2 separate regions of the Homo sapiens genome follow, and region 2 is linked to region 1. The links are contacts of gene promoters, found by promoter capture Hi-C in blood cells and fetal thymus (Javierre and others, 2016). All regions are on one chromosome and are shown on one strand. The core of a region is centred on a gene start or on the middle of the fragment in contact, and the rest is flanking DNA. Distances in the headings are between cores, read along the strand shown. Region 1 holds the start of NDP-AS1 (NDP antisense RNA 1). Region 2 has its middle 3.9 kb from the start of DIPK2B.

The links. Contacts are between HindIII fragments. The CHiCAGO score rates a contact against its expected background, and 5 or more counts as called.
Region 2: a contact is called between a fragment that was not itself captured here and the fragment with the promoter of NDP-AS1 in region 1, in 1 of 17 cell types (erythroblasts). The highest score is 7.0, in erythroblasts.

What each region holds. Positions count from the first base shown.
Region 1 is chrX:43,945,622-43,952,430 of GRCh38, forward strand. NDP-AS1 (NDP antisense RNA 1) reads left to right here and starts at 4,111. Exons shown (of 6, transcript NR_046631.1): 1 at 4,111-4,459. It overlaps NDP (norrin cystine knot growth factor NDP), which reads right to left. Exons shown (of 3, transcript NM_000266.4): 3 at 3,155-4,405. The coding sequence ends at 4,178. RefSeq lists enhancers at 3,788-4,305, 4,306-4,822. The HindIII fragment of the contact is 3,781 bases long and covers 846-4,626 here.
Region 2 is chrX:45,201,161-45,208,477 of GRCh38, forward strand. No RefSeq gene overlaps it. Among named protein-coding and RNA genes, the nearest start is that of DIPK2B, 3.9 kb to the left of the region's middle. The HindIII fragment of the contact is 1,808 bases long and covers 462-2,269 here.

The DNA.
Region 1 (6,809 bases), core at 2,861-5,360:
GATCCAAAATGAATGAATTTCTTTCTTTTTACAGATCCATAAATATATAAAATTTACTGTTGCAGGCTTGGTTCTCAAGAGTCACATACTGAGTTAAAGTTTGTGGTGCAGGATATTTATTAGGGATCAGCATCCATAGAAGACAAGTGGGGAAGCAAGCTTAGGTAGAAAGAGGAGTGCTCATTAGAGTTGTCCTTCACTGGGCCAAGATAGCCAGGCCTTTATACCCTGGCCTTCGTCAATCACTGGATATGAGCCATTCTGGAAGAGCATGTCCTTGGGCAAGGTGACTCCTTGCAGCTGAGGCCGTTCCTGAAGGGGTTGACAGCTGAGGCAACCCCTTTTTAAGGGGGATCTGGCTGGTGCATCTCTATGTTTGCCATAGTCATCAAATTTAAAATGTTCTGTGCCCCACATGAGAAGACGGCATAGAGCACAGGATGACTTTAATCAATGAGACATTTGAAATTAGATTTATAATTGAATAAAAGAAAAGGCTTGTACTGTCATAGATTTATGGTAGAATATACCAAAAATTAATGTACTGAAGACTTACAGAAAAACAAAAGGCTCTAACATTGATTTGTTGGCATGTGATGCCAATTTCTTATGAAATGCTGTCTTTTAGCAGGTGTTGCTGAGTACCTTTTTGTGCGTTGAAACAAGCAAAGAGTTCCTCCCAGAGTGTAATGATGCAGTGATGGGAAGAACTCTTCCCAGATTCAAGTCTCTCTACTGTTCTAGCTCCTGAAGAGAACAGGTGTGTCTGTCCACCAGGAGGTGTCTGTACCCTAGAGTCATGACGAGTGCAGCATCAGCGGGATATGGCTTCCCTTTCTGATCTAAGCTTTCTCACCCCTACCCACCCCTCAGCCCCAATACATTTGGTGTTTCATCTTGGGCAGCTCTCTTGCTCAAGTGTATAGGTTTCAGTGGTGCCCAAAGAAGTGAACAAAAGCAAACCCATACCTTAATTTATTCAAGGTCACAAAGAAGAAATCAACTTACTCAGTTTCCCAGTCATAACGTGTATGCGACCTGCTCTACCTAACACAAAATAATGTGTTGGGTGGACTAGCAAACACAGGAGTTTAGAAGAAAATCAACCACTATTTCCTCAGGACCTAGAAAGGTTGATTTGTCCTTCATTTTGAGCTTCTGGGGATAGTTCAGGAGCTTATGTGTATTAAGATTTAAGGTATTGGTCTGTAAAACTGGGATGTCAAGAAAATCAATTAAGTTCATAAACCTATCTTCCACTGCAGTACTAACTCATTATTATTAAATGCTTAAAAATGATGAGGGCAAGATCAGTTTACAGGAGGCTTGCCCTCCACCATTATAGATTATCAGACAGATTTCTAAGAGGTAAGCTACTAAAATTATAACATACTTTAATTTTCTCATGCATAGTAAATGGGGAAGCAAATGAACACTTCTTAGACATTCCAGGAGTAATGTTTTTAACTGATCAATGTTTTCATTTGGTTGTCTCTCAATCCTTAGGGGTAGACACCAAAATAAGGCTAAATATGTTTAATTTTTAAAAGATAGAAAACAAATTCCATAGTAACTTAATATCCAGTAATGTCTGAAATCTCTCAGTTCCCAAGGCTATTTTTAGGTCTTTAGGGAAAATATAACTATTTTTCCCCTTTCTCAGCCTTGCTATTCCCCTAAACTTTACCCTGTCTCGCCACACTCTAAGATCCTGAAAGGAGCCAGGCTCCTTTCACTGGTGGCAGGAAGGAAATTAAAGCAGTCAGGGTTGTGAGGAGCAGGAAGCGTGGGTTCGAGTTCCAAATCCAAGAGTGTCTGTGACTTTCAGCCAGTTCCTGGATTTCTACAGGCCTCCATTTGCTCATGTATTTAAGGAGAGAAGAGGATGTATGCTTTCTAATAGTTCTTCCAAGGCCACTGTCCTGTGATTCTTTAATGCTCCAAGTATATTCTGCTCATTTCCATGGGGGAAACTTTGTCAATAGACCATGTAATGGGATTTGAAGGGACTATTTTCTATGGCTTCCAGAGAATTTGGAAGATATGAGTCATATAACTGCCCCCTGTAGTCCCAAATTGGTAGAAGGAAATAAAGACTAGAGTTTAGGGTATAGATTATAGATTCTCAAAGAAAATTGAGTTTTTAAGGCCCAGAAAATACTTTTTAAGGCTGGAAGTATTATTTTTCACTTTTTGATTAGCAACATGAAAGAACAGTCATAAATGTGACCAACAGTTAATACTTTCATTATCAGTTAAAAATTATAACCATTTAACTTTCAGTATTAAATTTAATTCCATTTATGACAAAATTCTTCATGTAATGGTCCAAACTGCCATTTCGCATTTGCCTTCAGAATGAGGAGAACCTCCAATTTAGGAGACTGGCTGGCTGTGTCACCACAGAGATTAAGATCAAGGTCAAGATTTAATAGCATTAGTTTCATTCTGTTTCAAAGCCATGAATACAAGTATAACCCTGCTGGCTTTCTTAAGAATGTGTGAAAGCTGTGCCAAAGAGTGTTCAAAACCATTATCTCTACTGGAAAAGTAATTCACAGGTTGGCTGTACTAACAGTGGGGGAGTTAATATCATCTCTAGTTAACCAGGACAAGGTTGCCCTGGAAACTGAATTGCCAAGTCTGGATTTGTATTGAGATACCTAAGAGGGACATAGCACTGTGCTAACATCATGAGTATTCTTGTAATGCCCAGTAATATCATTCGATCCTGAGCACTGCACAGTCAATGGCACAGAAATGTTGTTAACTATTTGTCCTTCTGCTGGTTCTTCCAACTTCACTTATGGATATTTATTTTCTTCTGAGAAAAGTGAAGAAATTAAAAAGGAGGGGACTCCTCTGTTTCATTCCATAGCTTCCAAGGAAGCCAAAATGCATTAGATTTTGTGTTTATTCAATGGGCTAAAATCTAAAACTCAGAGTCAAATTTAATAAGCCCTCAACACCTTGTTACATTGATTTCAAAAAAATGTTCCCACAATGCATTCTGGAACCCCATTTCTGTCTCCTTTTTTTTTTTTTTGACTCTTTTACTATATCATAGGAGATGCTCAAGCACTAGCTACATGTATGTTCTAGTCCACATGATAGTAGGATATCAAGTAGGAAAAAAATACTTAAACAGTCAAAATTTTGAATATACTCTTTTTATTTCAAAACGTGGGAATAACTCAAAATTTGAGCCTCCAGGACCAAAACACATTTGAACCAAACGTTCAGAAGACAAGCCAGGCCACCATTTTGGCAACATGTTTCACATGGACAAGTGGATATTAGAGAATGATGCCCGTGACACGGCTAAAGCTATAGCACACCCACAAATAGATTCATACTTGGTTGTCTAATTTGCATGCATGAGTATGGTGCATTCTCCATGCCACTAGTACATATATGCCTTTTCCAGAGTCAGTGCAGGATCCGTATTTGTGCAAGTCTTTAAAAGTCTGCTCCCTTACAAAATTTTACCATAATTTATCTGAGACAGCCTTCCTGTGACAAATTCTTTATGCTGCTTTTACTTTCAAAAAGTCATTTCTGAATAATAATTATAGCTGTCAAGAGTTCCAGCATCACATAAAAGAATCTGTTTGTTAGTTATTTTAATGTCAGTTCGCTGGCTGTGAGTAAACGTAGCTAAACATATCCACATGCTTGGTATCTGGACTTTGAAATCGGTAACCTTTAGCAGCAATGGCAACCTTAGACCAAAATGACAAGGTAAAAAAAAACATCAACAATAACAGAAGATGTCCCAGGAAAAGCTGGGCTTTTCTACTTTCCAAAGTAAATTCTTCCCCAGCGTGCACCAAACACTGACAGCCTGACACGCTTGTGTATGAGGGCCCACTTTTTCCCACTAATGCTGAATTGTTGGAAACCCAAACAGCATTGAGAGCCAAGGGGGAAAATGCCTGAATCTGAAAATGAACCAAAAGAAATTGTACCAGAGAAAGGAGATGGGAACTGCAAAGAAGTTCCCAGAGTATCTCTCTCTGTCAACAAGCATGTAGAGTCTTTATTACTAGAATATGCAGAGTCCCGGGAGAATTGTTGCATCCTTTTTTGCCTTAACTCTTTTCTTGCCAGTCTTTCCCTGGCTGGTCGAACTGCCTCTACAGTTGTCCCATCCAGAAGCCACACACAGCAGCGGGCCTCAGGAATTGCATTCCTCGCAGTGACAGGAGAGGATGTACCGGTAGGTGGCAGTGAGTCGCATGCCCCCTGAGCATCGCAGCCGCAGTGCCTTCAGCTTGGAAGTCTGGGGCCGGCAGCAGTGACAGGAGGAACGGAAGGGTTGCTTGAGGACAGTGCTGAACGACACCAAAGGCTCGGAGCGTGACGCCTGGCTGCAGTGCCCCTCGCACCTGGCCAGGAGCACCATCTGGGGAAAGAAAAGGAGGTGGTTACTCTGTGGGCATGCCACAACCTTAGCCAGGTAAAACAGCATCTTTTGAAAGACCCTCACACTCGTTGCCAATTCCTGCTAGATTAGACCAGTGGCTCAATGCATGTTGCATTTTTTTTAAGTCAACACCCAGGCCTCATTCAGATCGATTGAATTAAAATCCTTGGAGATAGGGACCAGGCTTTCATGGTTTTCAAAGCTTCTTAGGTGATTTCTAAGTGTACTGAGGGTTTAGAACCACTGAATGACGCCCATCACTGTGATGTGCGAGTAAAAACCAAAGAACAAAAGAAATTTCTCCTGACAGGTAGTGGTCTACCACTGGCCCAATGCATTGCAATTCTACCAGTAGCAAAATGCAGAAAGTCAATCCAAATTGAAACCAAGAAGTAAATTAAAATGACTACCAAAAAAAAAAAAAAAAAAAAGAAATTGATTTGTGCAGGAAATAGCTAAAGAACAGGAATATAGTTTCTGAATAAGAAAATAGGATAGCCTGAGTAATGCTTAGGAAGAAATATTCTGGGTGCTGCAATTTGGGACAAGAGAATGAAGTAGAGACAGGGCATGTCTGGGGCCCTGAAATCACACTTCTGGGTTTATATGTTGAAGGAGCCTGGGATTTATGTAATTGCATCCGCATCTTCAGAGTCATTTGCGGCAAATATTAGGATGTACCCATTCTGATAATCTCTATTTCCAAAGATTGGGCTGGAATAACGGAGGCTATGTGTTCTTTATAGTAGCTCTTAATCTGGCTTTAGCAAACAGACACCTTTAAGAATCTGATGAAAACTACCAAAGTTATCCCCAGAAAAATGTACATAAGCACACACACAATTTGCATACAGCTTAACGGAATGGAAAAAAGGATCATTTATGTATCCCATACAAAACTCCTGGTATCCTGGGAGTGGGAGTAATAGGTGGGTAGGGTGGGACAGCTTGACTCATTAAGCTGCATAATCCTAATATCAAGGTGGGGAGGGGAATGGAGAATCTGAGATTATTGGTCCCATGGTTATGTAAGAGGTTTTGCTTGGTGAATTTCATGTTAAGTGATGGAGAAAAAAATCCCCTGGGCCAGGTGTATTGTCTCATGCCTATAATCCCAACACTTTGGAGTCTGAGGCAGGAGGATCACTTGACCCCAGGAGTTTGAGACCAGCCTGGGCAACATAGCATGACCGTGTCTCTAAAAAAAAAAATAAAAAGTTAACCAGGCGTGGTGATGTGCACCTGTAGTCCCAGCTACTTTGGCAGCTGAGGCAGGAGGATCACTTGAACCCAGGAATTAGAGGCTGCAGGAAGCTATGATCAAGCCACTGTACTCCAGCATGAGTGACAGAGCAAGGCCCTGTCTCAAAAAGAAAAGAAAAGAAAAGAAAAATTTGTCCTATAATTCCAGAACCAACAGCAAGATCATAAAAAGTGAAACTGTTCAAATGAAAGATTAAAAGATACATATATATGCATGAAACCTTTTGACGTTTACCTTACAATATTGTAGGAATTCGCAGTTATTATTAAAGACTCACCAGCTATTATCTCTGACATCATCCTGTAGGGCAGAATTAAACACCCAAGGTTTACAAGAAAAAAATAGCCAGTCCATCTTTCCAAAAGGGAGAAAAGATGAATTCTGGTAATTATAGATTATTGGCATAGTTATCTGAGAATATACTGGGGCTAAATCCAACAATCACTTAGCAACCACCAAGGCAATATGAAATACTAGAAAAAAAAAACAGCAGGGCTTAGGGAAGAATAAGTTGGACTAGACCAGTGAATTTATTTTCTCTGAATGATCGCAGAGGCAGAGAGAAAATAGCAGCTGTAAGCTGTTTTGATTTTTTTAAAGCTTTTGATTCTATCCTACCTGCTCTTCATTTTGACAGGCAAAGTAAACTATCAGAAATGATTGTTTGTTTGTTTTGTTTTGTTTTTAGAGACAGAGTCTTGCTATGTTGTCCAGGCTGCAGTGCAGTGGTTATTCACAGGCATGATCATAGCACACTACAGCCTTAAACTCCTGAGCTCAAGGGATCCTCCTGCCTCAGCCTCCTGTGTAGCCAGGACTACAGGCATGTACCACTGTGCCTGGCTCTGAAATGGGTTTTGAGAGACTATGCCATAGGTCAGTAGTACACAGGCTAGTCCCTAATTCCCACCCCCATTTCTCTAATGAGAGAGAGAGTCCAAGATCTTCCTTAGTCTGTTCTCCCCCCATCTCCCTGTATGTGGGAAGAGCTGCTTGATACCTCACCTTGGAGTAGTGTTAAATTTGCTAATCTCTCATCTAGATCATCTATTAGGTTGACTAAGCAGTTATTCACAGAGTCACCTTCCGTGATGGAGTCTTCAGAGGTGCAGTTTCAGT
Region 2 (7,317 bases), core at 116-2,615, 1.3 Mb after region 1:
AGGATATCCCGGCAGGGCAGGAAAGGTCCATGCAGGATGTGTGTCCAACCTGCGTTCCACCTGGGAGTTTCAAAGGATCCTGAAAGCCTCCACCCTCCACTGTTTTAATTCCAGGTTTATCTGTCCCTATGGATTACACGTGCACCCCAATTTTTGACCCCTCTGTGCTAGGTCATTTGTCCTGCCCCTTAATCAGCCCTCCTTCCCCCACTTTTACCATATTTGCCTGTGAAATAACTAGAGGTTAGCTTGCTTGCCATTAACTGGCACATTTAGCACTGATTTGAAAGCTTTTTGCTGCTTAGGGAAGAGAAAACCTCAGGTTAGTCCATCTTCTCTTGCTGGTCTGAGAACAAGAGACCAGAAAGAACCCGGTGGCCTCTGTGGCATGATGAGGGGAGCACCAGAAAGAGCCCTCTGACAGCACACAGCTGTGTCTATCCCTCTCCCACAGACCTGAAAGCTTCTCTTCCTTTACCAACTTGCTTCACTTCTCGGGGTGGCTTGGCCGGATTTGGTAGGATTTAACTGCCCCAGGATTGCCTTCCTCAGGATACCAAGATAAGGTCCGCAGCATGGAGTAGATGGAAGTGCTAATTTGGGAGTAGAGAGAACCTCTGAGAACCAAATCAGGGAAGTCAGGCTGCCTCACATTCTGTGAGAGGGTGGAGGTGGGGAGCGGGGCACGGTTTGAAAATATGAGAAAGTGCATAGGAAGATGGGGCTGGGGGTGAGGAAAAGGGAGGTAAGAGGGAGTGGGGATTGCCTCTGGACAATTGACAAGTTTTGCTAAAGATTGGTGGGAAGAGCAGGTAAAGGCAATTTTCTGATGATGAAGCACGTGCTTATTAGCATTTGTATAGCTTCCTCAGTAAAATGTCTGGTCATGTTTGCTTTTTATTGGTGAGTTTTGACGCTTGTTTATATATTCTAGATCCGAGTCCTCTGTTGGATATGTGGCTTGCAAATATTTTCTCCCCAGGGCTAACTTGTCTTTTATTCTTTTAACAGAGTCTTCTGCAGAGTGAAAGTTTTGATTTTGAAGTCCAATTTGTTAATTTTTTCTTTTTGAATCATGCTTTTGGTGTCAGGTGTGATAAAAGAAAAACTTAAGCACATTTAAATTTTAAAGAGTTTATTTGAATATTCAGCGATTCATGAATCAGGGCAGTATCAGACTGCAAACATTCTGCTGGGAGGGGCAAGAAAGGAAACTTTTATAGTGTTTGCAGAAGCAGGACAAAGAAAACAATTTTTATTGGTTAGAGTGGAAAGTCCCTAGTTAGAGATTAATTGGTGATTTTTTTGATTGGTACAATTTCTAGTTTAAATTTACTATTTACATTAGGCTTTGGTTTGTTCACACAGGAATTTAAAGTGCCAGAGCCACCTCAGTCTAATGGCCTTCCAATTAGAATTTTAAAACATAATTCATCCTTTTTGATCAGCCTCTCATTTAAGAGATATTGACTAAAACTTGGGCATAAGCTCCACTCTCTGTGACCATCATGGCTAAGTTGTCCTTGTCTCAGTGTGAAACTCATAAGTCACAACATCAAGCTCATTGAGGAAAGATTCCTTTTGTTGTTCATCTCATTTTTGTTGCTCTAATTACAGTGAGATCATCTGGCATACCGTTGATGACTGTGAACACACATTTAAGACCCTCAAGTGAATGTAGTTCACCAGGGAGATTATGATGACTACCAGGAGGATAATACTGAAAGACTGCAGTATGTTCCTTAGCCAAGGTCCTCACAAACCAACTCAACTAACATTTCTAGAGAAACAAAAGAAAACCAAAGGTCAATGACTAGAGCAAACTATAAATTCAGTCTGAGTCCAGAGGAAATTTAGTTAACAAGATTGCTAGATTTGAGCTTGAAACATATTTTTCTGGTTTGCAGTTTGAATGTCTCTGGTTATGGTACTGAGGGTTTCAATGATCTTCCTGAGTGGTCCACATATCAGGCATAAGGGTTGTCCTCAGAAGTCACATCAAGTTGTCTATAACTGCCTGGCAGGGTTTCAGGAACAGAGCACATCTTGTTCTGAGTGATTTCAAGTCTGAAAAATGGGAAAAAATTGGATTGGAGGAATAAAGATGAATTCAGAATTCAGTCCAGTCTACAAATAGACAATAAAACTCAAAAACAACAAATATGGCTACAATCTACTATCAAAAATTATGCACAGATCTTTTCAGACATTACAGGGGTCCTCTGGAATGTCCCAAAGTTAGTTCTAGGTCAAAAAGACTTAATTTAGAAGCTTATTTTGGGAAGTTTGTAAAAAATATCAAAAAGTCTAAAACACTTGATTAAATAGGATCATTAGTCATTATGAAACAATGAGAGGCAAATACAGAAAGGTTATATAGCTGTAAAAAAACTTAGCTCTTTTAATGTTGAGAATACTCATTTTTATATATATGTATATAAACAAAGACCTAGTAAAAGACAACACGAAGCACAAGAAATTATCCTGATAAAACACAAATCTTTGTAAGGTAGATCACTTAAAAGATAAGAAAAACCTTTCACCAAGAAAACTTTGTTCTTTCAACAGAAAAAAAGCCAGTGTCTAGCTTTGTATCAATGTACTTTTGATATTAAAGCTAATTTTTAAAAACCCTTCTAATAAATTTCATTCAGTTTTAGCGAGCTTGACAACACATGAAGTTCCTTTTTCAAATTTTAAACTGTCTATACTTTCTTATATCAATTTAGTTTGTCCTATACTCTTCCTCTCTCCCATTGTAGAACAATTAATCACTCTAATTTAGGACAAAAATTATTCTTTTTTTTCTCTTAACAAAAATACACCCTTATACTTAAACTTCCTTGACAAAACATGCCTTACTTCCTTCACATATACAGTTGTTGCCCTTATTATTTCTAGAAGTTTTAATTACATATATTAATTAGAATTTTAAATTCTTAGTAACCTTAATTTCTAGTGAAAACTAGTAAGCATTATAAACAGTTTCATATCAGCATTTTGTAAATAAACATCATGTCATATATAATCTTTCATGTTTATTAGCAGACCCAAATATATTTAGCTTCTCTATACTGTATAAAAACAAGACGCCAAAGTATATATACTTTAATCTTATGTTCAGCAGTTAATGTTTTAATGTTTTAACTTACTCAGAAATGGCTTCAATATTTATTGAATATTTATTACTTAATTGAACATAGCATAACTTTAAGATTTCAAGTTACCGGCCGGGTGTGGTGGCTCATGCCTGTAATCTCAGCACTTTGGGAAGCGGAGGCAGGTGGATCACCTGAGGTCAGGAGTTTGAGACCAGCCCATTATGGTGAAACCCCGTCTCTACTAAAAATACAAAAAGTAGCCAGGCATGGTGGCATGCACCTGTAGTCCCATCTACTTAGGAGGCTGAGACGGGAGAATTGCTTGAACCCCAGAGGCGGTGGAGGTTGCAGTGAGCTGAGGTCACGCCACTGCACTCCAGCCTGGGAGACAGAGCAAGACTCCATCTCAAAATAAAAAAAAAAAAATTAGAAAAAAAGATTTCAAGTTACAAAAAAAGATTTTTGGAACAATTTTTAGTAGACATATTTCATAAAACATAATTATTTTTGAAGTTTATAGACTTTTATTTCATTTACATTTACCCAATTCATTGTTTTTTTTAATTTTTAATTTTTGTGGGCACATAGTAGGTATATATATTTATGGGGTATATGGGATATTTTGATACAGGCATATAATGTGTAATAATCATATAAGGGTGAATGGGGTATCCATCCCTTCAAGCATGTATTCTTTGTGTTACAATCTAATTATACTTTTTCAGTTATTTAAAAATGTTCAATTACATTATTATTGACTGTAGTCACCCTGTTGTGCTACCAAATACTAGATCTTATTCATTCTTTGTAACTATTTTTTGTACCCATTAACCATCCCCACTTCCCCTCCCCCGACACCCTCACTACCCTTTCCGTCCTTCTACTTTCCGTCCTTCTACTTTCCATCCTTCCTTTCCATACTTCTACCCTTTCTATCTGGTAACCATCCTTCTACTCTCTATCTCCATGAATTCAACTGATTTTATTTTTAGATTCCCACAAATAAGTGAGAACAAGTGAATTTTGTCTTTCTATGCCTGGCTTATTTCACTTAACATAATGATCTCCAGTTCCATCTGTGTTGATGCAAATGACAGGATCTCATTATTTTTAATGGCTGAATAGTATTCCACTGTGTGCATGTACCACATTTTCTTTATCCATTTGTCTGTTGATGGACACTTAGGTTGCTTCCAAATCTTGGCTATTGTGAATAGTGCTACAGTAAACCTGAGAGTACAGATACCGCTCTGATATACTGATTTCCTTTCTTTTGAGTATATACCCTGTTAGGGTATATAGTGCAATTGCTGAACCACATGGTAACTCAATTTTTAGTTTTTTGAGGAACCTCCAAACTGTTCTCCATAGTGGTTGTACTAATTTACCTTCCCACTAACAGTGTATGTGGGTTCCCTTTTCTCCACATTTTCTCTAGCATTTGTTATTGCCTGACTTTTGGATAAAAGCCATTTTAACTGGGGTGAGAAAATATCTCACTGTAGTTGAGCACCTTTTCATAAACCTGTTTTCCATCTCTACATTTTTTTTTTTGAGAAATGTCTGCTCAAATCTTTTGCCCATTTAAATAATCAGATTATTAGAATTTTTTTCTATAGAGTTGTTTGAACTCCTTATATATTCTGATTATTAATTCTTTGTCAGATAAATAGTTTGCAAATATTTTCTCCCATTCTGTGGGTTGTCTCTTCACTTTGTTAATAGTTTCCTTTGCTGTGCAAAAGTTTTTTAACTTGATGTGATCCCATTTGCCCATTTTTTGCTTTGGTTGCCTGTGCTTGTGGGGTATTATACAAGAAATCTTTGCCCAGTCCAATGTCCTGGAGATTTTCCCCAATGTTTTCTTGTAGTAGCTTCATGGTTTGAGGTCTTAGATTTAAGTCTTTAATCCATTTTGATTTGATTTTGACATACAACGAGAGATAGGGGTCTAGTTTCATTCTTCTGCATATGGATATCCAATTTTCACAGCACCATTTATTGAAGAGATTGTCCTTTCTCCAATGTATGTTTTTGGCACCTTTGTCTAAAGTGAGTTTACTGTAGATGTGTGGATTTGTTTCTGCATTCTCTGTTGTGTTCCATTGTTCTATGTGTCTGTTTTTCTGCCGGTACCATGCTGTTTTGGTTACTATAGCTCTGTAGTATAATTTGAAGTCAGGTAATATGATTCCTCCGGTTTTATTCTTTTTGCCCAGGATAGTTTTGGCTATTATTTGCTTTCTATATCTGGGTGCTCTAGTGTTGGGTGCACATATATTTAAAATTGCTAAATTGACCCCTTTATCATTATATAATGACCTTCTTTGTCTTTTCTTATTGTGTTTGACCTGAAATCTATTTTGTCTGATATAAGTATAGGTACTCTTGCTCTTGTTTGTTTTCCATTTGCATGGAATATCTGTTTCCATCCCTTTATTTTCAGTCTATGTGTGTCTTTATAGGTGAAGTGTGTTTCTTGTGGGCAATAGATCATTGGGTCTTGTTTTTCTATTCATTCACCTGCTCTATAACTTTTGATTGGAGAATTTACACTATTTACATTCAGTGTTATTATTGATAAGTAAGGACTTACTCCTGTCATTTTATTAATTTTTTTCTGATTGTTTTGTGGTCTTCTCTTCTTTCTTTCCTCCCTGTCTTCCTTTTAGTGAAGGTAATTTTCTCTGGTGGTATGTTTTAATTTCTTGCTTTTTATTTTTTGTGTATTTGTTGTATGTTTTTTGGTTTGGGGTTACCATGAGGGTTGCAAAGAACATCTTATAACCCGTTATTTTAAACCAATGACAACTTAACACTGATAGCATAAACAAACAAACAAAAACAAAACTAATAAAAACTCTACACAACTCTGTCTCCCTGCTTTTTAACTTTTTGTTGTTTCAATTTATATCTTATTGTACTACATCTTGAAAAATTGTTGTAGTTATTATTTTTGATCAGTTTATGTTTTTGCCTTTCTACTTAAAATATGAGTTTACACACCACAATTACAGTGTTATAATATTCTGTGTTTTTCTATGTACTTATTATTACCAGTGAGTTTCATACCTTCAGATGATTTCTTATTGCTCATTAATGTTCTTTTCTTTTGCTTGAAGAGCTCCCTTTAGCATTTCTTGTAGGACAGGCTTGGTGTTGATGAAATCTTTTAGCTTTTGTTTGTCTGGGAAAATCTTTATTTCTCCTTTATGTTTGAAGGACATTTTCACCGGATATTACTATTCTAGGATAAAAGTTTTTTCCTTCAGCACTTTAAATATGTCATGCCACTCCCTTCTGGCCTGCAAGGTTTCCACTGAAAAGTCTGCTTCCAGATGTATTGGAGTTCCATTGTATGTCATTTGTTGCTTTTCCCTTGCTGCTTTTAGGATCCTTTCTTTATCCTTGACCTTTGAGAGTTTAATTATTGAATGACTTGAGGTAGTCTTCTTTGTATTAAAATTTCTTGGTGTTCTATAAGCTTCTTGTATTTGAATATTGATGTATTTCTCTAGGTTTGGGAAGTTCTCTGTTATTATCTGTTTGAATAAACTTTCTATTTCCATCTTTCTCTCTACTTCCTCTTTAAGGGCAGTATCTCTTGGATGTGCTCTTTTAAGGCTAATTTCTATATTTGTAGTCATGCTTTTTTTAAATTCTTTTTTTCTGTTGTCTCCTCTGACTGCGTATCTTCAAATAGCCTGACTTCAGGCTCACTAATTCTTTGTTCTGCTTGATCAAGTCTGCTGTTGAGAGACTCTGATGCATTCTTCAGCATGTCAATTTCACTTTTCAACTCTAGAATATCTGCGTGATTCTTTTTTAATTATTTCAGTTTTTTTGTTGAGTTTATCTGATAGGATTCTGATTTCCTTCCCTAAAAATAAATGTTCCCTCCCCCAAGGACACAGATTCTCTCTCCACATGATGTGGCTGCTGCCATGGGGATAGGGGTGGTGGTGTAAGCCATTCAAGGCTGATTTTCCTACCCCCTTCAGTGCCTCTTTCAGCAATGTGAAGTTAAAACCAGGTACTTTGAAAAGAAATGTTCAAGAATGTTATCTTGAATTTCTTTGAGTTTCCTCAACACAGCTATTTTGAATTCTTTGTCTAAAAGGTCACATATCTCTGTCTCTGCCAAATTGGCCCCTGGCACCTAATTTAGTTCACTTGATGAAGTAATGTTTTCCTGAATGGTACTGGTGCTTATAGA